Linked DNA regions of Homo sapiens: regions 1, 3 and 4 are each linked to region 2. Evidence: promoter capture Hi-C in 16 types of primary human blood cells and fetal thymus (Javierre and others, 2016). All regions are on one chromosome and are shown on one strand. Each heading gives the region's core, a stretch centred on a gene start or on the middle of the fragment in contact. The rest is flanking DNA. Distances are from core to core; before and after follow the strand shown. Region 1 overlaps SQOR (sulfide quinone oxidoreductase). Region 2 holds the start of SHF (Src homology 2 domain containing F). Region 3 overlaps SQOR (sulfide quinone oxidoreductase). Region 4 has its middle 15 kb from the start of SQOR.

Region 1 (2,700 bases), core at 35-2,534, 450 kb after region 2:
ACTGAGAAGGTGGCCATCTGCAAACCAGGGAGAGAGATCCCAGGAGAAACCAGTCTCATCAGCACTGAGGTCTTGGACTTTCAATCTCCAGAACTTTGAGAAAATAAATTTCTGTTCTCTAGACTTCATCTAGTCTATAGTGTTTTGTTATGGCAGCCCTAGAAAATTAATACAACTGGTTCTACCAAATGGACAATAGGTTTAAAAAAAATGGCTACAACTAGGCACCATCTCTTTTAAGTCATGATCCCGACATGTCCATCACTTGCTCTTAGGATCTCTTACCCAACCTATGCAGAAGAGTCTCCCATGTACTTTCCTTCTACAGACACCCTGTGTGGTCCCTAGGATCTTGCCTGAAGTTGTTAAAGCCATATTCAGCTTCATGATTTTGACTGTTAGGAAAAGAAAAACTTGGCCTCTTCAGCAAGTGACCTAGGTTAGCTGTTGTGCCATGTACATAGTAAGTACTTTGTAAATGTATGGTGGGTGATGGGTGATGATGTTATGATCATCCTTAAATACCATGGGGTGACTCCCTTCTGATCATAATGAATCTCCATGTTTTGGCCCTAGCCCAGCCCTCAGGGAACTTTCATGCCACCTAGCTGGGAACCAGCAGCTCTGGCCCTAGCTACATGAATGGAGAGAAAATGGCTATGTCTGTATCCTGGTACCAATTCCTGACTTCTGGGAGGGAGGGCTGCTTCTGGAAGTGGGGATTGTGGTGATTTCACTCTATGATAACTTTCTTATATCTTTGGCTATTTGTTCTAAGGTAGCCCATGATGTCTCCATAGGAAAATGATGTGTTTTAACAACCACCATGTTTGGAGTATAGATTGTGAGAGCTCTTCAAGACAGTGCTGGGTCTAGTAAATGTGGTTTTGTGTTTCTGTGAGCACATAAATGATGCTTGAGATGGATGAGGGGCCATCTGAGTTTGGAGGAAAATCATGAGCCTTTCAAGGTCTAGGTGATCAAATCTAAGCTTGTTTTGAATCATTGAGTAAGAAAGGTCTTTAATGGCAACTAGACACCTCCACTTATTTTACACTCAGGGAAATGGACTCAAAATGGTAAATGACTATCTCATGGTCTTACAATCTCCATTTCCTCACTTATAAAATGGGAATAATAATTCCCACCTCTCTGGTTTTTGTGAGTAATTACGTAAAGTGCATAGCACAATGCCTGTCACATATCAACACTTCCACAAATGATTTGGGGACTTGCGGGGAGAGATTGAGAGGAATGGTTTCCATTCTAATTATGTTCCAGACCTGCTTATTAAAGCCTTGTTATTCTTTGCCACAAAAATTCACATCTCTGATCAATCTAAGGAGTTATTAGAACAAGCGTCCCCATTTGAAAGCCTGCTTGTGAACTTCCATTTTCCTTTTCTCATTTAGAGGATAGCAAAGTTTTAGAGAAGCAGGGGACCTTTGATGCCACCCAATCTGATCCTTTATTCCATTGATGAAGAAAGCATGGCCCAAAATGGGTCAGGAAGAGCTGTACCTAGCACTCCCTGGACTGTGGTCCTGGGTCTCTTGACTCTTGATATGCCCTCAGACAAAGCTTCACCAGGAACGGGTCATTGTCATCTAGCTGGACACAGAAGAGACGTGAGCTGTCTACACCTCATTCTGTCTCAACTATTAAAGGATTGAGTTTAGAGTCTCTCCAACTATGTCCAAATAGCAAATGTATACCTTGAAATTAAAGAGTGTTTTCTCATTATGGTAAGACCTCACACACTGGATTCCAAGGAATGATATACTTGAATGAAATGGCCAGTCCCGTTTACAGTGAACTCCTTGCATGTGAGACTCTGAGTGGAAATCCCAATGCTCCTGAGGCTGATGAGTAATTTTAATGTGGTCATTTAACAAACTCAGGAAAACAAGTTCATCCCTGTTGTGTGACTGGGAGTACACTGATTCCACCTCAGGCTTCTTTTTCCAGTGAGTCATGTCCTACAGTCTGCAGATGGGCACACACAGGCATATACAGACTAGAAAGGAAACCTGAAAATTACCTGACCAGAGGCCAACTATGAGTGGTGGGGTTGAAGGGGAGCTAAGTCGTGCTTCTTTATGTACTAGAATGTGAGAAGTCAGGCTCCCACTGGCTACAGCAAGCAGAAAAACAAGGTGTTCTTTCATTTTTTTTCCCCCTATATAATTCAGTCAAAACTCTTAACTTTCATTTGAAATAATCCAATTGACTGACATATTTTTTCTTTCCTGGAATCTGAATGCAAGCATTTTCCTTATGTAAATATAATTTGTGTTTTCTGCTTAGCAATTGTATTGGTTTGGTGAAATTGTCAGTTCTCTTGTTACAATGCATTCTCTGATTGTAAAATAAGGATAGGTCAGGATAATTTGTAGGAAATTTCTCAGGAGCAAAGGGAGCCACTGTTTCATTGTAAAGTCCTCATTAGCAACTCTTAATCAGTAACTCTGCAAAGAAAATTCCTACAGTTTTGCCCCTGAAGAGTGAGGGAACTAAAGAACCCCAGTGCAGCTCCCAGTCCTTGAATCATCAGAGAGCTATATAGATTGTTCCTATTTCCCCAGTGACTCAGTCCTGGCCCACTACTGGTGTACTTGCTTCACAGCTTAATATTTAAACAAATGTTTGGATTTATAACAGCTCCAGAGGGAGAGTTTCAACATGGCCCTGCAGGGCTAA
Region 2 (2,700 bases), core at 151-2,650:
CCAACCCGAATCAGGGCAGGGCCCTGAGGCATGGTGGATTTCCTGTTCTCCTCCCTATCCTGGTGCCTGCAGACCCAGGAAAAGCTCCAGCCTCCCTCAGAATGGACCAGGGGGAGAGGGAGGCCAGGAGGAGAGGAGGAATGGGCTCAGCTGCTTAGCCCCATGTGGGCAACAGGTCCTGAGCACTGACTATCCTCATACCTGAGAGGACGAGGGAAGGAGGGAGGAGTGGGCCTGGACCCCACGAAGCCCCCTTGGCAAGAGCTGTAAGCTGCCTGTCTTCGCCTCCTGAGAACAACAGCCTATAGGGCAAAGGCCAGCTCGTGCTGTGTCCGCAAGGAGAAACCCGTCTTCACCTCCTTTCTGGGGCTTCAGCACCTGCAAGGATGCTTAGGCTGGAGAAACAGGAGGAGGAAGAGGAGGAGGAAGCAAAGAGGCAACAGGAGGGAAGAGCTTTGTGCTGGCTATGCCCAGGGGGAAGGGTCAGAGATCAAAGGGCACTGAGCCGCTGCTTCCAGAGGGGCAGAAAGGCCATCAACCAGTGGGGGTTGGGAGGTGCGCCTCAATTCCCGTTAGCAAAAGGCTCATGGATCAGGCTAGAGGGGGCTACGAAGTGGAGAGCCAGCCCGGGAGGGGGAGGGTCACCAGTTCTGGGGCCATTACAAAGGATAGGGCAGAGGGGCAGAGTTTGGGGCTTCCGTCTCAGATTAGTCGGTTGAGAATCTGAACAAAGGTGGGTGAAGGCTCGGAACCCCGGGGTCAGGGGCTCGCGTCTGCCAGAAGCTGAGACACCGAGGGGCCCGGGCCAGGCCACCTTTGTCCCTCTCGCAGCCTCCAGACCCCTGACCGCCTTCCCTCCTGGCCATCCCGGCCCGGCGCGGCACTCACCCTATCGCTGCTGGCGGGGGGTCCGGAGATCCGCTCATCAGCAGGCGGCGCCGGGGGCCCCGGGGTCTCGACCCGAATAAGGCGGTGTGGGGGAGAGCCGTGGCGCGGGGGCGGCGTGGGTCCGGGGGCGACAGGGGTGGCGAGGGCGGCGGAGCCGGACGACCCCCCGGAGTAGGGGTCTTCGAAGTCGCGCTCCCGCTGCAGCCTGTAGGCGGCCAGGATGTCCGGGGGCGGCGCGGGGGGCGCGGCCGGAGAGGGCGCAGGGGGGCGGTAGTCGGGCTCGGGGGGCGCCGGCTTGCTGCCCCCTCCGCCGCCGCCCCCCCCGCGGAAGCCCAGGTGCTCCCGGAGCCACTTGGCTACTCCGCCGCTGCCGCCCCCTCCTGGGCCGGCTCCCGCACCCCCGGCGCCCCGGCGGGACCCCCCCGGGCCGCCCCCAGCGCTCCCCTGCGTTCGCGGCCCCGGGCGGGAGCCAGCCGGAGGAGCTCCGCTCAGTAACATGGGGCCAGCCAGACTGAGCGAGGGGAGCGCAGCGGCGGGTGGGGGGCGGGGGCGGGGGTGGGGAGGGGGGCGGGGCTCCGCCGGGCGGGGAGGGGGCGGGGCGCTTCAGTAACAAGGGAGAGGCGGGGCTCCGCTCCCTAACAGGGTCTTCCTCCTCCCGTAGCTCGGAAGAGTGTACGCGGGCTTCCAGCCGGTATGCACAGGCAAGAAGTGAAGTGGGCAGCCCTGGGGCAGAGGATGCGACTACTGGACTGAGGTTGAATCCTTTACGTGTCGCCACGCGGTCCCCTGTGGGGAGCGCATCCATCCCCATCTGTTCTTTTCCCCAGCTCCCAGCTCGTGCGAGACGCAAAGAGGGGAGCCCCCAGACTCCTGACTCTAGGGAGCCTTACGCCTCTCCTCTTCCCTCTCCCAGGATCTCGCAACTGGGAAACTATAATCTAGGAGGAAAATCTAGGCGGGCAAGAAAAGGGGCTAGGTTCTGTAAGATGTGTCTGTAAGCCTCCTCCTCCCGTGCTACCTTGGGAGCCCCACAACCTCCTCCCATCCAACCGTACGCACTGCACATACCCGAACCTACGTTACTTCCCGATCCAGGCAAACACATCTCACATCACATACAAACAACTCCCTAGAGACGCCCACTTCTCCCGTGTCGTTTTCACACACGCCCTTCTCACACGCAAACAGCCCTCGCTCAAACATCCCCCACCCACGGGAGCACCTGCTCCAAACGGGCCCACATGGCCCTGACGATAGCATGCGCACGCACGCAGAAATCCCTTCCAGCCACATCCCGGGCTTCATTGTCAATCAGATTAGTAACAGAATGGAAACAGACAAGTCAATAAATCAAGTCTAGAAACAGTCCCAGTGTTGTCTATCACAAACTCCTTATCCTCTTGAGGCTCAGATGCTCAAGTGCTAGGCATTTTTGTCTTAGAAATAAAGCCAGTTCCGGCTGGGCGCGGTGGCTCACGCCTGTAATCCCAGCACTTTGGGAGGCCGAAACGGGAGGATCACGAGGTCAGGAGATCGAGACCATCCTGGCTAACACGGTGAAACCCCGTCTCTACCAAAAATACAAAAAAATTAGTCGGGTGTGGTGGCGGGCACCTGTAGTCCCAGCTACTCGGGAGGCTGAGGCAGGAGAATCGCTTGAACCCAGGAGGCAGAGGTTGCATTGAGCTGAGATTGCGCGACTGCACTCCAGCCAGGGCGACAGAGTGAGACTCCGTCTCAAAAAAAAAAAAAAAAGAAAAAGAAAAAAGAAAAGGAAAGAAATAAAGCCAGTTCCTCACCATAAATGTAGGC
Region 3 (2,700 bases), core at 15-2,514, 470 kb after region 2:
GTTTGCCTAATGTTTCCTGTGGAACTAGGCATGTACTGGTTGGGAGCTGTATCCTTGGGAGGAAAAAGCAAAATGGATCAGGTGCCTGTTTCAGGGGGAGGACAGGACAAGGAAGACATACTCCTTTTCAAGATTTGTCCCCAGCAGGGAATGATGTTAACCAGGGCCATGATTTGAGAGGAAACTAGGGGGCAGTCTCTATCATTTTCCTTTTTAAAGTGACGTCTGTTCAATTCAGGAACCTCACTTTAAATGACAGTGGTCTGAGAGCTGTGTCAGGTGGCTACTGTTTCTGGTATATGTTGTATTTTAGCTAATGCGTGGGCGGGTCTCCCAGTCAGGCTTCTCTTTGTAAGGAGACTGGCTCTTCTGGGACCTGGGCACAATTCAGGCGGCCAGAATCAAGTTTGTCCTGCCCCGTGAGGAAGTACAGGACAGGAATTTCTGGAAGGAGCTGCCAGAGCCCCAGGCTTGGTACTTTCCCTGCTGAGTCTGATTTAGTGATAGCTGGAGCTGATGTTCATAGTCTAAAAATAAAATCTGAGCTTGTATTTTTGCTCCTCTTACTGTTCAAGATAGACTGGCCATTGATGAGCTCTCATAAATGGAGACCTCTGTCTTCCTCCCTCTTGGATCACATTATTGCTTGTAGGGAGATTGCAAAGTCATTCCTGGTGTCCTCTTCACCTCTCTGTGGGTTTTGGCAGTGCTGGCCAGCTACTTTGAGGCATTTTGGCAATATTGAGAGCTCTTGGTCCCCAGTCTACTCTAAGTGGATTGGAATTCTTAGAGGCCATTAAACAAATCTGCCCTTTGCCCCTATGTCCAGAACTTTTACAACTAACTTAGATCAAGAATGGACTGTTGCTGGGCACAGTGGCTCAGGGCTGTAATCCCAGCACTTTGAGAGGCTGAGGAAGGCAGATCACCTGAGGTCAGGAGTTCAAGACCAACCTAGGCAACATGGTGAAATGCCATCTCTACTAAAAATGCAAAAATTAGCCAGGCATGGTGGCACATGCCTGTAGTCCCAGCTACTCAGGAGGCTGAGGCAGAAGAATCGCCTGAACCTGGGAGGTGGAGGTTGCAGTGAGCCGAGATCGTGCCACTGCACTCCAGCCTGGGTGATTGGGGTGATTGGGCGAGACTCTGTCTTAAAAAAAAAAAAAAAAAAAAAAAAGGACCATCTGAAGCAAGAAAACTCCAGAAGATAGTGAAAGTTTGGGTATGCATTGCATTGTGGAGTAGGATCTGGTACTTATTGTCTTTGGTGTAAAATCTCTGAGTCTCTGAGAAAGTAGAAGAAGGGCTGTTCAGGAAACACAGCCCTCACTGGGCTTGGGAAACACAGTTGGAAGTTAATGAAGTTTAGAGGACCTCTGGAAGGGGCTGTAAACTTTCCAGACTTACCACTGTCTCCACATGCTCCTGAGGAACCATATCTAGGCTGCTGGGCTTAATTTTTAAAATATTTGTTCACATGAAGTATCCATAATATGTGTGTAGATATGCACGTGCATATAACATGTACATATTAAACACCAAATCAACTTTCAGCAATACATAATGCAGTGGTCACTAAAGATAGTTTATAGCTTTTCTGATGATCTTGGAAGAATTCTTGTGTGGAGTGACTGTCCTTCAGAGCTTACCATAATAGGAGACGCCTAATAGACGGAGCTAACTTTGTGGAGACTTTTCCATACGATGCTCTAAAGGTCAGGAGGGAGTGATTGAAAGAATCTAGCCCATACTGTTAGCTATGACCCCTTTTGATCAGTGTCAAATTGCAATAAATCTTCAAATACTTTGTTTCTCAGAGACATTTCTACCAGCCAATCTGGACACTGGTGGGTGCTGGTGCCAAACAATTGTCCTCATCTGGTCGTCCCACGGCAAGTGTGATTCCATCTGGTGTAGAATGGATCAAAGCTAGAGTGACTGAGTTGAACCCAGACAAGAACTGCATTCACACAGATGACGACGAGAAGGTAACCACTGAGGCCTTTAGATTTTTTGTTAATCTGACAGCTTGTATTAATATGCAGCCATCTTAAACTGGATAGCCTTGTGTTGAAAGAGCGGTATATATGCATGTGTGTGCATGAACGTATGTGTGTTGAATACTACACAAGATGGCAGGGTATGTGGTAAGTGGAGGATAGATGGAAGGACTGAGTGATATTGAGTTAATAAACAACTAAGATAAGTATTTGTTGAACACCCACTGTGCACCCTATTGCTTAGTATACTATCTTGCACCTGAATGTTTATCAGACCATTTGTTTATACGTTGCTACATGTTAAAATAGCAAGCACCTTCCTCCTTCTCTTTTTCTGAAGCAATCAGATTTTCTACCGGTCGCCTAGCCTCCCAGAACAATAGGATGCTGGAAAATATCCATCCAGCCACCCTGGGGGGCGCTCTACCAGAACTGTAGGGGAATCCTGTGACTCTGAGGTTCATGCCAGCGCTAAGGAGAATTGTTGCTGGAGCTTGAGGCTCACAACTGCTCAGCACCTTTTAGAAGTCTCCCACCCTCACCACTCAGGGGTCAAAGCTTTTCAGCAGTGGCCGCCCCATGTTTGACTGAGGTGATAAGAGCAGGATGGTGGAAGGCCTGCTCAGAAGCCATCTGCAGCTTTCTTTTCCCCCACCTGCTGCTGAGCCCAGGGCAGGGGCAGGCAGTGCAGCCACCG
Region 4 (2,700 bases), core at 109-2,608, 430 kb after region 2:
ACAAGGATGCTTTTAGCATCTATAACGGGATCAACAAACTGTTCAGGTAAAGGGCTAAATATTTTAGACTTTGCAAGTCATACACTCTTTGTGGCAACTGCTCAGCTCAGCTGTTGTAGCACAAAAGCAACCATAGACGATATGTAAGCAAACGAGTGTCCCGTGTTTTAACAAACCTTTGTTTATGAAAAATAGATGATTGACTAGATCAGGCCATCAATGGCTCCTGGGCCATCATATACTGATCCCTGATCTATTTATTTTTTTAAAGCAAATTGGAGGAGCAAGAGGCTGAGGGCAGTAATTTCAATAAAAATCCGGCTCCCTTGCCCAGTTCCCAGACTTAAGTTAATTTTTAGATCTGGATACATGGACTGGAGAGGTGGTTGAAGGAAGAACCGTGCAACATGATGGCAAACATATACTGTGATGATTCCCCTAGTCTCCTCAAAGGGACCTATGGCCATTTTCTTGGGTGACTATACACTGAAGGGGGAATAATCAGACATTTATAAAGTAATTGGACAGGCCAGGCGCAGTGGGTCATGCCTGTAATCCCAGCACTTTGGGAGGCTGAGGCTGGATCACTTGAGGTCAGGAGTTTGAGACCAGCCTGGCCAATATGGTGAAACCCTGTCTCTACTAAAAATACAAAAATTAGCTGGGCGTGGTGGTGGGCGCCTGTAATCCTGGCTACTTGGGAGGCTGAGGCAGGAGAATCGCTTGAACACAGGAGGCGGAGGTTGCAGCGAGCCGAGATCGTGCTGCTGCACTCCAGCCTGGGCGACAGAGCAAGACTCCCTCCCGCTAAAAAAAAAAAAAAAAACTATTGGACAAAGGGTCTGAGTTGCACTGATACTGAGAGACCCAAAGAAGCATCATAGCCCTGCTGTTAGAGCAGAGTTTAGGAGGACCAACTAAAAAATGGGGTGCTAGATAAAGCCCAGTTTACAATGGGCCCAGGAGGCCTGCAGATCCATTCAGTGGTCACACTACATCTTTTCCCACCACTCACACCTCCAACACCATGGGGGTCTGCTGGCAGAGCTGACTGCACTATGGCTTGGACCTGCTGCAGCACCCTTTCTCGTTCTAGCCCCACTCAAGCCAGAAGCTTTCTGTGTCACCCAGTACATGGGCCAGAAATATATCCCCCAGGGGTGGAATATGTTGTCTCAAGAACACAAAAAGGCCTACAAGGCACTGCCTTCTTTCCTCAAAACAGGGCTAGAAGATACATCAATTTGCCTTTTACTTTAGAACAGGCTATTCCAGAATACTTCCAACCACGAGACCTCCAAATATGTTTCTGAAATGGCCTGTTCTGGACTCTTCACAGGGTTTATCTCCTACGCTCTGAAATGCACGCATCTCATCAAGGCCTCCAGCATACTTGCCCCTCTGGCTGGTCCTGTCTAATGAGCTTTATGTCATCTCAGTGTAATGGATCAATGTGATATGTTCTTGGATGTTTAAGAGGTCCAGATCTCTCAGACTATCTTATAATAGGAGGTGGGATGGGTAATATAACTCTAAGGCAAACTGTAAATTAATATTGTATGGTTTTTCTGCCCACAGAGCCTCAGCCAGCACTTCCATCTGGAAGCTTAGGGAATGCTTGATCCACAGTTGTGGAATCCTGCGTAGCAGAGCATCCAACTAGGGAATCTACTTCAAGTGAAGGAGGTGTGGGAGTGGGTCCTGACCATGGGATTCTCTGGTTGTGTTATGAACTGCACCACCCAGAAGCAACTGGCCTTATAGATTGTTGAGATGGTCTTCTAAAGTAACAACTGAAATGGTAGCTCTGAGAAAGGATGTGAAATAATGAAGTGCCATCTTTCAGGACACGGTGCATTTATTAAATCAGTGACCTCTCTATGGTTCTACTTCCCTAGTAGGAAGGATACAAGGGTCAGGAAACTAAGGGGTGGAAGGAGAAGTGGCCCTACTTACCATCGTTTCCAGTGACCCACTTACTACCATTCCCCAGTGATCCACTGGGGGATTTTCTGCTTTCTTTCTCTGCAACTCTAGGCTCTGCATGATTGGAGGTCCTGATTCTCAAAGGGAACACACTCTTGCCAGGGATATAATAAAGGTGCCACTGAACTATAAGTTGTGGCTGCTGACAGGGTGCTTTGTACTTTTTGTGTTCAGGCACCAGCAGGCAAGAGAGGAGCTGGTATACTAGCAAAAGCACTGAAGTGATCGTTAGGGGGAGGTAAGTTCATTTACAAGATGGGGCAAGGAGGAAGATGTGTGGAACTCGGGTGATTCATTTGGGTACCTCCTGTACTCCCTAGCCCCATTATAACTGTGAATAGATAGACGCGGCAACCTCAGCCTTAGAAGAGTATGATTATCGTGAGTTCAGACCCCTCAGGAATGAAAGTTTGGGTTACACCACCAGGTAAGCCACCAAGACCGGCCAAGGCGATAGCTGAGGGTGAAGGGGATTTAGAATGAATAGTGGAAGAGGGAGAAGGTAAGTACTAATTGTGGTCCTGTGATCAACTGTGGTGATCTTGGGACTGTAATTCATCCAACCAACCCCCTCTGCTCAGTTGCCCCTTAGGAAGGAAGGCCCATGAGGACTATGGAGTAGCTGCTCCTTGCACCTGTGTGGAGAAGTACATCTATACGGCTCAAGGGGTAGATTGTGGTGGCCATTAGAACATGCCTCACAGACCTTCAGCT

What was found. The method cuts DNA at HindIII sites, captures the fragments that hold promoters and counts their contacts. A CHiCAGO score of 5 or more calls a contact.
Region 1: a fragment that was not itself captured here is called in contact with the fragment with the promoter of SHF in region 2 in 5 of 17 cell types (monocytes, M2 macrophages, naive CD4 T cells and 2 more); the score reaches 9.3 in monocytes.
Region 3: a fragment that was not itself captured here is called in contact with the fragment with the promoter of SHF in region 2 in 1 of 17 cell types (monocytes); the score reaches 6.1 in monocytes.
Region 4: a contact is called between a fragment that was not itself captured here and the fragment with the promoter of SHF in region 2, in 1 of 17 cell types (monocytes). The highest score is 5.8, in monocytes.

What each region holds. Positions count from the first base shown.
Region 1 is chr15:45,638,870-45,641,569 of GRCh38, forward strand. The region is part of intron 1 of SQOR (sulfide quinone oxidoreductase); the gene reads left to right. Among named protein-coding and RNA genes, the nearest start is that of SQOR, 5.2 kb to the left of the region's middle. The HindIII fragment of the contact is 590 bases long and covers 990-1,579 here.
Region 2 is chr15:45,186,566-45,189,265 of GRCh38, forward strand. It overlaps SHF (Src homology 2 domain containing F), which reads right to left and starts at 1,401. Exons shown (of 7, transcript NM_001394037.1): 1 at 889-1,401. The coding sequence starts at 1,386. It overlaps LOC124903481 (a long non-coding RNA gene), which reads left to right. Exons shown (of 2, transcript XR_007064608.1): 2 at 1,550-2,253. RefSeq lists an enhancer at 1-381 and a silencer at 1,296-1,345. The HindIII fragment of the contact is 22,026 bases long and covers 1-2,700 here.
Region 3 is chr15:45,660,135-45,662,834 of GRCh38, forward strand. SQOR (sulfide quinone oxidoreductase) reads left to right here. Exons shown (of 10, transcript NM_021199.4): 3 at 1,821-1,991. Among named protein-coding and RNA genes, the nearest start is that of SQOR, 26 kb to the left of the region's middle. The HindIII fragment of the contact is 2,590 bases long and covers 1-2,559 here.
Region 4 is chr15:45,619,158-45,621,857 of GRCh38, forward strand. No RefSeq gene overlaps it. Among named protein-coding and RNA genes, the nearest start is that of SQOR, 15 kb to the right of the region's middle. The HindIII fragment of the contact is 492 bases long and covers 1,113-1,604 here.